Regions from separate parts of the Homo sapiens genome. Here regions 2, 3, 4 and 5 are each linked to region 1. Evidence: promoter capture Hi-C in 16 types of primary human blood cells and fetal thymus (Javierre and others, 2016). All regions are on one chromosome and are shown on one strand. Each heading gives the region's core, a stretch centred on a gene start or on the middle of the fragment in contact. The rest is flanking DNA. Distances are from core to core; before and after follow the strand shown. Region 1 holds the start of ERP27 (endoplasmic reticulum protein 27). Region 2 overlaps ATF7IP (activating transcription factor 7 interacting protein). Region 3 overlaps PLBD1 (phospholipase B domain containing 1). Region 4 overlaps GUCY2C (guanylate cyclase 2C). Region 5 overlaps RERG (RAS like estrogen regulated growth inhibitor).

Region 1 (2,638 bases), core at 46-2,545:
ACTGAGAAATGGAAACAGACAAGAAGGTCTGCTATGAGAGAGTAGGGGCTTGATCAGCTGTGAGGATTTCCAGATGCTACCACCAGAGAAAGATGAAAATGCTGGAATGAGGCAGTCTCATTTATGGCTGCCTTTCTTAGTCAAGAAGCTAATCTGGAAGATGGAGGTTAACACCTTGAATATACAAAATGCCATCATTTTCCAACATTTCAGACAAGGCAAAGAGAAAGAAGGAGAGTCTACCATATTTGGGGGAAAGGCTTTAAAAGGCTGTGCACTGACTAATGTCCAGGATGTTTGGCATCCTGTAAACAGTGTTGCTGGATGATATAAATTGGGTTCACTCTGGCCCCTGCCTATTCATAGGGTGCTATGAGAGTATAGACCAAATGTGTTTAGGACAATGGTGGGGTTCCATGAAGGCATTCTTTCTGCAGATACTGACTTGAGCTTCAAAGCATCCATAGATGAGGAGATGCAGCCCACAGGCTCAGAACTCTTGAAGTAAGTATGAGAAAGATATAATTTAGAGACTGGGAATGTCTTGAAAATAAGAGGTCCCAATGGACAAGATGAAATCAAACTGGGTGGCTGTCTCCCTTTACCCCCACTTCTAATGCAGTGCCATCTGCCAGCAGCAGGTGGCTGCTGTGGTTCCCTTAAGGTAGAACATTTCTGGCTCTTGGGGGAATTGCAAGTAGGGAACTAACCTGGAAGAAGCCTATGACAGCCACCTCAGTGGCAGCAATGAATTCCATGGCAGCTGGGACATCTGTGAGCCACGTGGGTTCCTGGGCAGCACCAGGACCATCTAGAGAGAGAAGCAGAAGATGTCAGGGTACTGAGGCAAGAAGAAGCAGCTCTAAATAATGAGGGCATCTATACCTTTTATCTCTATACTAAGGGCAAGAAGAGCACAATTTATAGGAGTACTGTTGGCATTCCAAGGCATAATATTTTTACTAACATATGGAAGGTGACCCTACTGATGGTCTGTCTCTGAAGGATACTGCCAGACTTCCCTACTCTCTACCAGGCAAAATGCACTTATCCAGGATTTCCTGGAAAGCTTTCTAGGTGTGGAGGAAAAGTACCCAGAGAACCACCATGCTCCCTTTCCTTCTCCTAATAACACTTTCACACTATAGCCACCCAACTACATTTTTCTTTTACCTGAGGATTTCTCAACTTCTGCAGCAACTTCTGCAGCCAGCTCACACGTGAGGAGAAATAAGAGGAACATGAACCTGGACGGGGCAGCTTCCATTGTCCCTCTCCTGCTCCTGCTCCAACCCTGGACTTTGTGTTGGGGAGGCCGACTCAGGGCAGCCTACTCTGTAGCTGATTGGCTGTGGGGTTGTTAGGGCTTTGGGAACTTTGCAGCTGGCTCCAGGGGAGCCTTCAACTTCTGAGATAAAAGACCAAGGTTAGTAATAGGGACTCAGAACATATCCAACCAGAAGAAAGTCAGGTCAGTTTATTTAAATAAAAAATGTAAATATGCTATGCCAGGCATTGATCCTAGCGCTAAGAATAGAAAGATAATTATGATCTGATCCAGCCTCTGCCAGCTTAGATTATCAGTGGGAGAGATGGGCAAGTAAAAAGATTATTTAAATATAAGATGGAAAGTGATATAGAAAAATTCATAGGGTGCTATGACAATACATATTAAGGGTATTAGGGACAATGCTAGGGTTCAATGAAAGTGTTCTTCCTGCGGAGGATGCCGGAGCAGAGTTCTGGGTAAGTAAGATTTTGCCAGGCAACACAAGGTAGAAAGGGAGTTTCATGTAAAGAACTAAAGCACAGGCCGGGCGTGGTGGCTCATACCTGTAATCCCAGAACTTTGGGAGGCTGAGGCAGGTGGATCACGAGGTCAGGAGATTGAGACCATCCTGGCTAACATGGTGAAACCCCATCTCTACTAAAAATACAAAAAATTAGCCAGGTGTGGTGGCGGGCGCCTGTAGTCCCAGCTACTCGGGAGGCTGAGGCAGGAGGATGGCCTGAACCCGGGAGGCAGAGCTTGCAGTGAGCCGAAATAGCACCACTGCACTCCAGCCTGGGCGACAGAGCGAGACTCCGTCTCAAAAAAAAAAAAAAAAAAAAAAAAGAACCAAAGCACAGATATGCAAATATAATGTGTGACAGAATTACTAGTAATTGAGAATGATGAAAAGGAAGGAAGTGATACATGTGGACAGAAAGGCATGTTGGGACCAGCTCACAGCAGGCTTTATATGATACACTAAGCGCGGGAGCATCAATTTTATTCTGTAGGTGATGGGAACCACTGAAAAGTCTTAAGCAGAAGAATGAGATGAAGTTTGATTTTGCTCACAAGTGTCTGAGGAAGTCCAAGATGAGATTTCCACAGGCATTGGGATATGTAGTTTTAAGCTTAGGAGAATTTTCATGTGAAAATATTACAAAAGAAATTAGGAAGCCCTAGCCAGGGCAATTAGGCAAGAGGAAGACATAAAAGGCATCTAAACAGGAAAAGAAAAAGTCAAACTATTTCTCCTTGTTGACAATATGATTGTATGCCTAGAAAGCTCTGAAGACTCTGCCAAAAGGCTACTGGAACTGATGAATGATTTCAGTAAGGTATCAGGAAAAAAATAAGTGTACAAAA
Region 2 (2,638 bases), core at 52-2,551, 480 kb before region 1:
CTCAATTGCACAAGCATTTTTCCTTAACTATCCTACTTTGGCACGCAGTAGTTGTCTTATATGTACTGCCTATTTCTTCACATGGAATATTAAGAAAAGAACCCCTATTCAAAGGTTGAGATATAATAAAGTTAATAGTTTTTACCGCTGTATCATGGGGATTCTTAAGTAAAACTGACTTTGTTTTTTACTGTAAGCATGTGATGAAGAATGCAGCGATGTTTGGTCCCATTATACTACCTTGATTTTTGTACTAAAGCATCAGAAGTTTTACTTAGCATTGCTTTTGCTCCATTGGTGCTAATGTCTGCTTATTTAAACAGTCAAATAATGTCTCATTGTTATGAAAATAGTTTTGACATTGCAAACTCCCTGAAAGGGTCTCAGAAAACCCCAGGCACCCCGCTGGACCACACTTTGAGAAACTGCTGCTCTAGTGAACCTGTTATTTTTGGAAAGACTATAAATCAATGAGAAAGAAGTTTGGTCATGTATTTTAAACCTGTTGCAATGAGAATAAACACAAGTAGTTGAAAATTATTATAAAACTAGTGACCAGCATTTGTATTTTCTCTGTTCTTCTGTATATGCTACCTCATTTCTTCTTAATTCATCTGTCATCTTCGCTCAGTGCTGTTTTCCATATCATACAATGTCAGTAGGGTGTCAGTAGAGGGAATCTCCCCTCAATAGTTCCTCTCCCAAGGAATTCAATCAAACTTGATCCAAAGATACAGACATGGTTCAAATAATAAAATACGATGAGTAAGCCTACCTGTTATTCATTAATGGTCATGACTCTTTTTAGATTTACTATTTGAGTTTATATATTACTTGTGTTGTAAGGCATTTATAATGTTTTTAATGTAGTTTCAAAAATATATATTTTTACTTAACTTTTTAGTATTTTTTATTTGTTTACTAGTTAGGTACTCTAAAGTGATTATAGTAATTTTCAGAGACCGTTTTGATCCTCAGTAGTCTTGCATATTAATCATCGATCATGTGCTGTTTTTGTAATTTACTAAAACTACATGCAAAATGCTTCTATGAATTTAATTCTAAATTAAATTTTGGAATTTAAATCTGGAAAAAAATTTCATGATAAAAGACTTTACAGTCTTTGCAATGTATTACGCAATGTATTTAATTTGTGTCTGTCATATTTTCTTAGTTGATAAATTAATATAACCATTTAAACTGAGGCTTCTGTTTTCTTTCTATAGTATCTTCAACCAATCTTGTCACTCCTCCAGCAGTTGTCAGTAGTCAACCTAAATTGCAGACTCCAGTGACTTCGGGTTCCCTCACAGCAACGTCAGTTCTTCCTGCACCCAATACAGCTACTGTAGTTGCTACTACTCAGGTGCCTAGTGGAAATCCCCAGCCTACAATCTCTTTACAGCCTTTGCCAGTGATTTTGCATGTACCTGTTGCAGTATCCTCCCAGCCTCAGCTTCTACAGAGCCATCCAGGGACTTTGGTGACTAATCAACCATCTGGCAATGTTGAATTCATTTCTGTGCAAAGCCCACCTACAGTGAGTGGTCTTACCAAAAATCCAGTATCCTTGCCATCCTTGCCAAATCCCACTAAACCAAACAACGTTCCTTCTGTGCCCAGTCCTAGTATTCAAAGGAACCCTACTGCCAGTGCTGCACCATTGGGAACAACACTTGCTGTGCAGGCTGTTCCAACAGCACACTCTATTGTACAAGCCACAAGGACTTCTTTACCCACAGTGGGCCCATCAGGACTCTATAGTCCATCAACTAATCGAGGTCCTATACAGATGAAAATTCCAATTTCTGCATTTAGTACTTCGTCTGCTGCAGAACAGAACAGCAATACCACCCCAAGAATTGGTAAGTCACCATGTAGGTTTAATACTAGAAATGCAAGCATCTTAATAGCCTTGTAATGATTGAACTTTTTTTTTCTAAGTGGCTAGCGTTATTGGAAGTACAAAATAAATAGAATTTTCTTGATTATTTTTAGTAATTTTTTAGATACCTGAGAGAAATGATGTTGCTAAAATGGGGCTTGAGAGGGGTTTTATTTTGAATTAGAAGTTAGTATCTGTGTTTTATCTTTTAGTAATTTTCCTAAGTTTGGTGAATTTTTAATTTATGGCTTTGTGGCAAGCATTATGAGTTACTTTTATGATACATTTGCCAGCAATATCGTTTAAAACATTTTAAAGTATCAAATTTACATAATATATGCTTTTAAGAAAAAAAGACACGTTTATGTTCCTTACCCATTTGGAAAATCCTTTGTGCACTCACTCATAGCTTCCAAATTTGAACAACTTAAAAATAAGTTTTTCTTTCACATTTGCTATAAAATGTTTGAGTCCTTCTTGTTTTATCTTTTCCGTGTTTTCCCATATGACATATTATATGATTGTTTGTATTTTACTTAGAAATATTGCAAAAAGGAGCACTTGATTATACCTGTTTAAAATCTGCCAAACTCTGTGTCTTCCTAGTTCCTAGAAAGAGTTTGTTTTGTATGCATTCTTGAACTTGCTTATTCTTCATTTCTGACTTCACATTTATGTGCACTACTTTTGGAAAGTCATGCAAGGGTAGGCATCATGTGTCTAGTAAAATTGCTACAGTATTTTTCTTATTGA
Region 3 (2,638 bases), core at 89-2,588, 430 kb before region 1:
CTGGAAGTGGCACTCGTCTCAGGTTCCAATGGCTAGAATTGTCATGTGGCACAACTATCTGAGGGACACTGGGAGATGTGGTCTGTGTGAGCAGGCGTGAAAGGAGAACATGAATTCTGGTGAATGAAGGAGCTGTTTCTTCCATACCCTCTTGTGTATTAGCATGTATGCCGAAGCTTAGTGTTATTTATATATATATGTAACATTTCTTCTACAGTGCTCTACCTTATAGTGAGTGCTTACTGTAAAAACAACAAAGTCAGTGGGAAATGAAAGTGACAAATTAATATATTTTATTGCATAATTCTGATGGGAAAAACATAGCTAAAATAGTGCCTTTGGTATCTTATTTACAGTCTTCTAGTCCGTCATCTCCCTCCTTCATTTTATATCAAGTTTCAAAATTGGTTTCATGGTAATAAAATCAAAGTTGTAGACCTCTGGCATGCCCTGATGTAGAGTTTTGTTGAAACGGTCCCAGCGAAAAACAGGGAGGCCACCTTGTACTGTGGGACCACTTATGGCATAGGATGTGTACTGAGATGCTAGGTAGATATCTGCCACCTGGAAAGAGGGAGGAGGAGGACATTTTAGAAAATCATCGTTCAGCAAAAAATTAAATCCATGGCCTTCCCCACTCTCCCACTACCAAAGTCACAATATTAGCTTTTTTTTTGAGTCGGAGTTTCGCTCTTGTTGCCCAGACTGGAGTACAGTGGCACAATCTCAGCTCATTGCAACCTCTGCCTCCCAGGTTCAAGCAATTCTCCTGCCTCAGCCTCCCAAGTAGCTAGGATTACGTGGATGGGCCACCACACCCAGGTAATTTTTATATTTTTAGTAGAGATGGGGTTTTGCCTTGTTGGCCAAACTGGTCTCGAACTCCTGATCTCAGGTGATCCGCCCGCCTCAGCCTCCCAAAGTGCTGGGATTACAGGCATGAGCCACCGCGCCAGGCCGCCTTCTTTAAAACAAAATTTTCTTGCCATTTTTCACATTGTCTTTATATGATACAGTCTTCTGTATACATTTGGCTTAAATGTCAGTTGACTAGAAGTGTGTGAAATGAACAATGTAGCCAAAAGTGAGATATGAAGTCAGATTACTCATATTCAGAATTCTAGCTCCAAAGCTTATTTAAAAATCACTTAACCCCTCTATGAATCAGTGTTCTCCTTTGTAAAATGGGCTGATAACCCTACTTCATAGAGTTGGCATGAGGATTAATGCAAGCAATGCTCAAAGTAATGCCTAGAATAGATGAAGTTCTTAGAAAAAGTTGTTATTAATCAGGGTGGTAACAAGAGTCTGAAAGTAGATAGAGCTCACTGTCAAAAATTGAGGGCCGTGGTTCTCAAAAACACCTAACAACTGGCTAGCAGTGGGTCTTAATCTTAGAGGGGAAAGAGAATCTCTTCTTCTTTTCCCCATATTCAAAATGACTCTAAAGAGATAAATTACATTTTTAAAGAATATCCTTCAACAGAAACTTTCTGATAAGAACAATTGCAGGCCTCTGTCTCCAGAAGTGAGATTTGGTAGAGGGAAGCTTGGCTTGAGTTCTCCCAGGCAAGGCAGCAGAGGTGATTTTCTTTGTGTATTCTGTGATAGATACAAACTTCACACATTGACTGAATGTTTGCAAATGCCATTTTAAAAAAGGAATACAAAAACATTCATTGGGGTTTCATCTGTGCCAGCTTCTCTACGTCTACCTTTTTTTTTTTTTTTTTTAATGTTAACATTGAGAGTCATTACGGCTAAAGCTTTGCCTTCATCACATAGCTAAAAAGAAGGTTGAGCTGGAACTTAGGATACTTTAAAGCATTTCCTGTTTAGGTATTAGGCTGATAGAGAATCATGTGCAACTGGGGTCAGCATTCCTATAATTTTTTGAGCCAAAGACAGAATACACACTTTACCCTGACAGGTTTCTTCCAGAATTTAGGACAGCTGATGAAATGAAAAGACACACACCCAAGCCAAGAGTGCAAAAGGATGTAGTAGCATGATTCCACCAACCAAATGCCTCATACCCTCAGACGTCCCAAATCCAGTGGTGAGCAGGTAAATTTTTAACAACAATCTTTCTTTGTGAGGAAAAAAGTTCCTGATTTCCATAATGTAAATACTTTCACTGACTGGTTTGAAGCCATCAACACGTCAACTAACAATTGGTTCCTGCATGTCTATAAGCTGGCTTTAGCACACCACTGCAAACCTACTTATTACTTATATTTTCAGATACATTACAGCACTTATCAATTCTAACATTGTGAAAAACTGCTGTGCTTTAGGCATCTTGTCCAAACTTGCTCCTTCAGCTAAATTTGACTCATGTTTAACATGGAATCGCACTGCTTGAATAATATGTTCTTTGGACTTTGGGCCAGTCTGGTAAAACATAAGACAACAATAACATCATTATGGTTGTATACATTTACAAATAACTCACTAAGTGCTGTTGTAAACATTTTACAGAGATTAAAGCCTTATTCTTCAGAACAACATATGAGGTAAGTACTGTTATATCCATTTTACAGATGAGGAAACAGAAACATGACGGAATTATGTGATTTACTACTAAATGGCAGAGCAGGGACTTGAAGTTAGATAATAGGACCTACCACCAGAATCT
Region 4 (2,638 bases), core at 62-2,561, 300 kb before region 1:
CAAAAATAAAGAAAAAAGAACAAAAATGAATGAGCAAAGCCTACATGATATAGACACCATAAAGTGGCTAAATACTTAAAATTTTTGGTGTCCCAAAAGGCGAAGAGAAAACAAAAGGAATACAAAACCCATTTAACAAAATAATAGCAAGAGATTTAGACATTCAGATACAGGAAACTCAGAGATCCCCAAATACATATAATTAAAAAAGATCTTCTCCGTGGCACATTATAGTCAAATTGTCAAAAGTTAAAGAGAAAATTCTAAAAATAGCAAGAAAAAAGCATCTGGTTACTTATAAGGAAACCCCCATCAGATTAACAGTGAATTTCTCAGCAGAAACATTACAGGCCAGGAGAAAAGGGATGAGGTAGTCAAAGTGCTGAAAGAAAAACCAAATTCCAGTTAAGGATACTATATCCAGCAAACTTATCTTTCATAAATGAAGAAGAAATAAAGGCTGTCCCAGGCAAGTGAATGCTAGGGAAATTCATCACCCCTAGACCTCCCCTACAAGAAATGCTTCAGGGCGTCCTACGCCTGGAAGTGAAAGGATGTCATCTACCACCATGAAAACACATGAAAGTATGAAACCCACTAGTAAAGCAATCACACAAAGAGGGAAGAGAAGGGTCTCAAAGGTTACCACTGCAGAAAACCACAAACCATAATGAAAAACAAGGGAAAGAAAGGAACAAAGGATGTATAAACAACCAGAAATCAATTAATCAAATGAAAGGAATAAGCCCTTACATAATAATAACTTTGAATGTAAATGGATCAAAATTTTTCACTTAAAAGATATAGACTGGTTCAATGGATTTTTAAAAATGACCCAACTGTAGGCTGCCTACAAGAAACTCATCTTATCTGTAAAGAAATATGTAGACTGAAAGTAAAGGGATGGAAAGATATTCCATGCAAATGAAAACCAAAAGCAAGCAAGAGTAGCTATACTTATATTAGGTAAAACAGACTTTAAGTAAAAAACTGTAAAAAGAGACAAAGGTCATAGGTCATTATATAATGATAAAGGACTCAATTCAGCAAGAGGATATAACAATTCTAAACATATACACACCCAACATTGAAGCATACAGACATTTAAAGCAAATACTATTAGATCTAAAGGAAGAAGTAGATTCCAATCTAATAATAGTTGGGGACTTCAACACTCCACTCTCAGCATTAAACAGATCATAAAGACAGAAAATTAACCAAGAAACATTGGATTTAAACTGCACGTTAGAACAAGTGAACCTAACATTTACAGAACATTTCATTCAATAGCTAAAGAATAAACATTCCTGTGATCAGCACATGGAACATTCTCCAGGATAGACCATATGTTACGACACAAAACCAGTCTCAACATATTTATAAAGAACCAGAATTATATCAAATATCTTCTCAGGCCACAATGGAATAAAAGTAGAACTCAATACCAGGAGGAACTTTGGAAACTACACAAATACATAAAAACTAAACAACATGCTTCTGAATAACCATTGAGTCGATAAAGAAATTAGGAGAAATTATAAAAAATTAAAACAAATGAAAATTTAAACACAGCATACCACAACTTATGGGATACAGCGAAAGTACTGCTAAGAGAGTAGTTTATAGGAATAAATGCCTGCATCAAAAAATCAGAAAAAATTCAAATCTAACAAGGCACCTCAAGGAATTAGAAAAGCAAGAATAAACCAAACCCAAAGTTCGTAGAGGGAAAGAAATAATAAAGGTCAGAGTAGAACTAGACAAAATAGAGGTTGAAAAAATAATACAAAGGATCATTGAAATAAAAAGTTGTTTTTATGAAAAGGTAAACAAAGTCAATAAACCATTAGCTAGACTAACCAAGAAAAAAATGAGAGAAGATCCAAATAAACAAAATCAGAAATTAGAAAAAGACATAAAAACCAATTGCACAAAAATGTGAAAGATTATCAGAGACTATTATGAACAACTATATACCAGCAAACTGAAAAATATAGAGGAAGTGGAGAAATTCCTGGATAAATGCAATCTACATAGATTGAATCAGAAAAAAATAGAATACCATAGAATACATGAACAGACCAACAATGAGTAATGAGACTGAATCACTAGTCTCCCAACAAAGAAAAGTCCAGAACTGGATGACTTTACTGCTGAATTATGCCAAACTTCCAAAGAAGAACTAACACTAATTCTCTTCAAACTATTCAAAAAAATTGAATAGGGAATTCTCCTTCATTCTACAAGGCCAGCAGTACCCTCATACCAAAACCAGACAAGGATACAACAAAAAAGGAAAACTATGGGTCAATATCCCTGAGGAACATAGATGCAAAAATCCTCCAAGAAAAAAAATACTAGCAAACTGAATCTAACAGTACATCAAAAAGATAATACGCCATGATCAAGTGGGATTTATCCCCAGGAAGCAAGGATGATTTAACATATGCAAATCAATAAACATGATACATTACGTCAACAGAATGAAGAACAAAAGCCATATGATCATCTCAATCGATGCAGAAAAAGCATTTGATAATATTCAACATCTCTTCTTGATAAAAACTCTCAAAAAACTAGCCATAGAAGGAATATATCTCAACATAATAAAGGCCAGCCATATATCACACACCCACAA
Region 5 (2,638 bases), core at 86-2,585, 280 kb after region 1:
CTTTGGATTCACCATATCATTGTGAATCTTGGAAGAGTCCACAATCCTTAAACAAAAGAAATTTGGGAATTCATAAGTGACTGGAAAATGAATTAATATTTATTGAGCATCTACTATATGCCAGCCACCATTCACTTTTTCAACATTTTCTGGTTTGATCTTTACCACTATCCTGTGAGAAGTCTATGGTAACTTACTGTAAATGATTTAACTAATAAATGGTAGATTCAGGACTTGGATTTGGATCTGGTTGGTACTAAAACGTGCATTATCACACACAATAGCATTTCTAAAGTACTTCCTCAAGAAATTTTCTTATGAAGGTATTGATTCTTGATAGTAACTGAAAGTAAAAGTGAATACACACATTTACCATCTATCTGTAAGCATTCAGTGTACAAACACATGCAGTGGGGCAATGGAGAGAGTCACTTTTGGGCCTCTTCATGTCTCTTTGGGTTGAATAACATACATTCATATTAGTCAACTCCAATGCAACACAATTCAATTTTGCATCTCAAAGTTAAATTTTTTCTCAATTCACACTTGATCACATGATGAATTCCTGTGACAGATACAGATACACATGTTCTAGGAATCAATATATAATACATAGATTACATTTCTATATTTTGCTGGACACAATGCCCTGGTACAAAAACGATAAATGCCATGCTCCAAGTTATTCCTTTTCTATGATGACTTCAAGTAAATTTGTTTATAGTGCTGTCTTAAAGCTTGGGAAATAACATTATGTACAAAGTAAGCACATCTTATTTAGTTTGGTGCTTTAGGAGTGACATCTAGGTTCTTAGGATCATGGAAACGTAAATTTGGAAAGAGCTTTGGTGGTGGTGGGGGCTGGAGTGGGGGTCATCTGAAGAAATCTTCTAGCCATTCTTCTAGCAAGAATCTTTCCTTAGGACATAACAATCATTCCATATTCCATGCCTGACTTACCACTTCCAGGTATGAAAGGTGGGCTCATTACTTCTGAAAGCTGCTTCATTTCTCCAATTAGGAGGAACTATCTTTCTAATATTGAGCTCTAAACTGTCTCCCTGCGGCTTCTACTCATTTGTCCTCATTTCTCTCTATGAAATAACTCAAAACAAGTCAACTTTTTCTTTCACTCAGAACCGTTCAAGGATCCTAGCATCTAGTAGGACCCTTTGCTCCATCCTAGGCTTCTTTTTTCTAGGAACATGAGGCCCAGCCTGTCCACTTGTTCTTCCCGGAATGTACACTCTCGTTTATGTTTTTTTGACCTTCACTCCCTTTTTCATCATGTGCATTGCCTCCTCAACATCTTAATCACTCTAAAAGCATGGTGTCCACTGCATTCCACTTTGAGATATGACCTGACAAACTGACCCGGTGTAAATTCCCTGAGATTTTCACTATCGTTAATCTGCCCACCATGGTTATACTGTAGCACAGCCAATCACATTAAGCCTCACATCTTTTACACGGACTGCAGACCCCCTCATTCCGAACATTTGCAATCAATGGCTTAAACCTAAATACAGCACAGCACTTTTACCCGTGTTAATCTTAATCACACCAGTCTGCATAATTCATTCCATTTTCAAGGCAGTAAAGATGTTTTAAACACAAATATGTTATCTAAATGTGTTAAATGTTCCTGCCAGATTTTTCCATCTATAAATTTTTACAAAGAGCTTCTTGAGAGAGAAATTAAAAAGTGAAAATCCGCCTGAAAAAGTATTTCTACAAAGACATTATCATGTAATTGTTTTCTTCCTTAGGTATTTAAGCTATCATCCTGTACCTAATAAGGTTTTGTATTTGCTGATTTTCAAAGTGCCAGAGCTTCCTCTGAAGGAAGGAAAAATCAACATTAACATTAGCTATTGTTTACTTCATCCTCAATAATGACAAAGTGTCTAAGTAATCATTATTAGCAAAAACCAGAAGCTTAAACATCTGCAATTTGTCCAGTCCCATATTTTTGGCTAAAGATAAAAAGATTTCCTTATTTGTCACTTTAGATGCATTCATTAAGAAAAGGCCCTATGTTTTTAAGGTTCAGGGCTTCATCACAGAAACATAATATGTGGAGATATATTAACTATTTAAATTATAAATGAGAAGAGGTGCTGGCAAGTATTTCTTTGAAACATTGAACACGCAAGTGTCTGCAGCTAGTATAAACAATAATTTTGTTTCATGCAAAACTGTTCATATACATGGATATAAAATGCAAGTAATTATCTGTCTGATTAATGTTTCATGAAAGTAGCCATCAAATGTGATTTTAAAAAAATGACAAGTCACATTTTTTAGTAACTCCCAAATGGCCCCAGAGGCATAGGAATTTCACATAAGAAAGAGAAATTGTGTGGGCTATTTTTTCCATTTATAACCTAATAAAGATACAGCTGGTTATTGTCAACCTAATTTTATGTTTAGAAAAATCACTTAAAGGAAGACACAAAACTGACAGGAGTTCTTCAACATTTTATTTCTCACATGAAAATGTGAAAAGTTACATTTGACAAGATAGAAAACAAAAATAAATATGTAAATTGTTGTAATAAGTAAACTGTTGCCAAGTTTCTGATGTTCCAAATAATTCATAATCTGAGAGCTTCCATACGTGGATCTAAGAAAATCC

The links. Contacts are between HindIII fragments. The CHiCAGO score rates a contact against its expected background, and 5 or more counts as called.
Region 2: a contact is called between a fragment that was not itself captured here and the fragment with the promoter of ERP27 in region 1, in 1 of 17 cell types (activated CD4 T cells). The highest score is 5.3, in activated CD4 T cells.
Region 3: a fragment that was not itself captured here is called in contact with the fragment with the promoter of ERP27 in region 1 in 1 of 17 cell types (neutrophils); the score reaches 5.4 in neutrophils.
Region 4: a contact is called between a fragment that was not itself captured here and the fragment with the promoter of ERP27 in region 1, in 1 of 17 cell types (neutrophils). The highest score is 5.0, in neutrophils.
Region 5: a fragment that was not itself captured here is called in contact with the fragment with the promoter of ERP27 in region 1 in 2 of 17 cell types (non-activated CD4 T cells and total CD8 T cells); the score reaches 6.0 in non-activated CD4 T cells.

The regions. Positions count from the first base shown.
Region 1 is chr12:14,937,242-14,939,879 of GRCh38, forward strand. ERP27 (endoplasmic reticulum protein 27) reads right to left here and starts at 1,296. Exons shown (of 7, transcript NM_152321.4): 1 at 1,174-1,296; 2 at 711-811. The coding sequence starts at 1,267. RefSeq lists an enhancer at 752-811. The HindIII fragment of the contact is 1,334 bases long and covers 1,068-2,401 here.
Region 2 is chr12:14,459,269-14,461,906 of GRCh38, forward strand. ATF7IP (activating transcription factor 7 interacting protein) reads left to right here. Exons shown (of 15, transcript NM_018179.5): 9 at 1,227-1,865. Among named protein-coding and RNA genes, the nearest start is that of PLBD1-AS2, 70 kb to the right of the region's middle. The HindIII fragment of the contact is 4,741 bases long and covers 1-2,638 here.
Region 3 is chr12:14,503,391-14,506,028 of GRCh38, forward strand. It overlaps PLBD1 (phospholipase B domain containing 1), which reads right to left. Exons shown (of 11, transcript NM_024829.6): 11 at 271-564. The coding sequence ends at 382. Among named protein-coding and RNA genes, the nearest start is that of PLBD1-AS2, 25 kb to the right of the region's middle. RefSeq lists an enhancer at 2,092-2,638. The HindIII fragment of the contact is 417 bases long and covers 1,131-1,547 here.
Region 4 is chr12:14,633,858-14,636,495 of GRCh38, forward strand. The region is part of intron 19 of GUCY2C (guanylate cyclase 2C); the gene reads right to left. Among named protein-coding and RNA genes, the nearest start is that of GUCY2C-AS1, 30 kb to the right of the region's middle. The HindIII fragment of the contact is 2,774 bases long and covers 1-2,638 here.
Region 5 is chr12:15,217,558-15,220,195 of GRCh38, forward strand. It overlaps RERG (RAS like estrogen regulated growth inhibitor), which reads right to left. Exons shown (of 5, transcript NM_032918.3): 2 at 1-46. Among named protein-coding and RNA genes, the nearest start is that of RERG, 2.5 kb to the right of the region's middle. The HindIII fragment of the contact is 1,201 bases long and covers 736-1,936 here.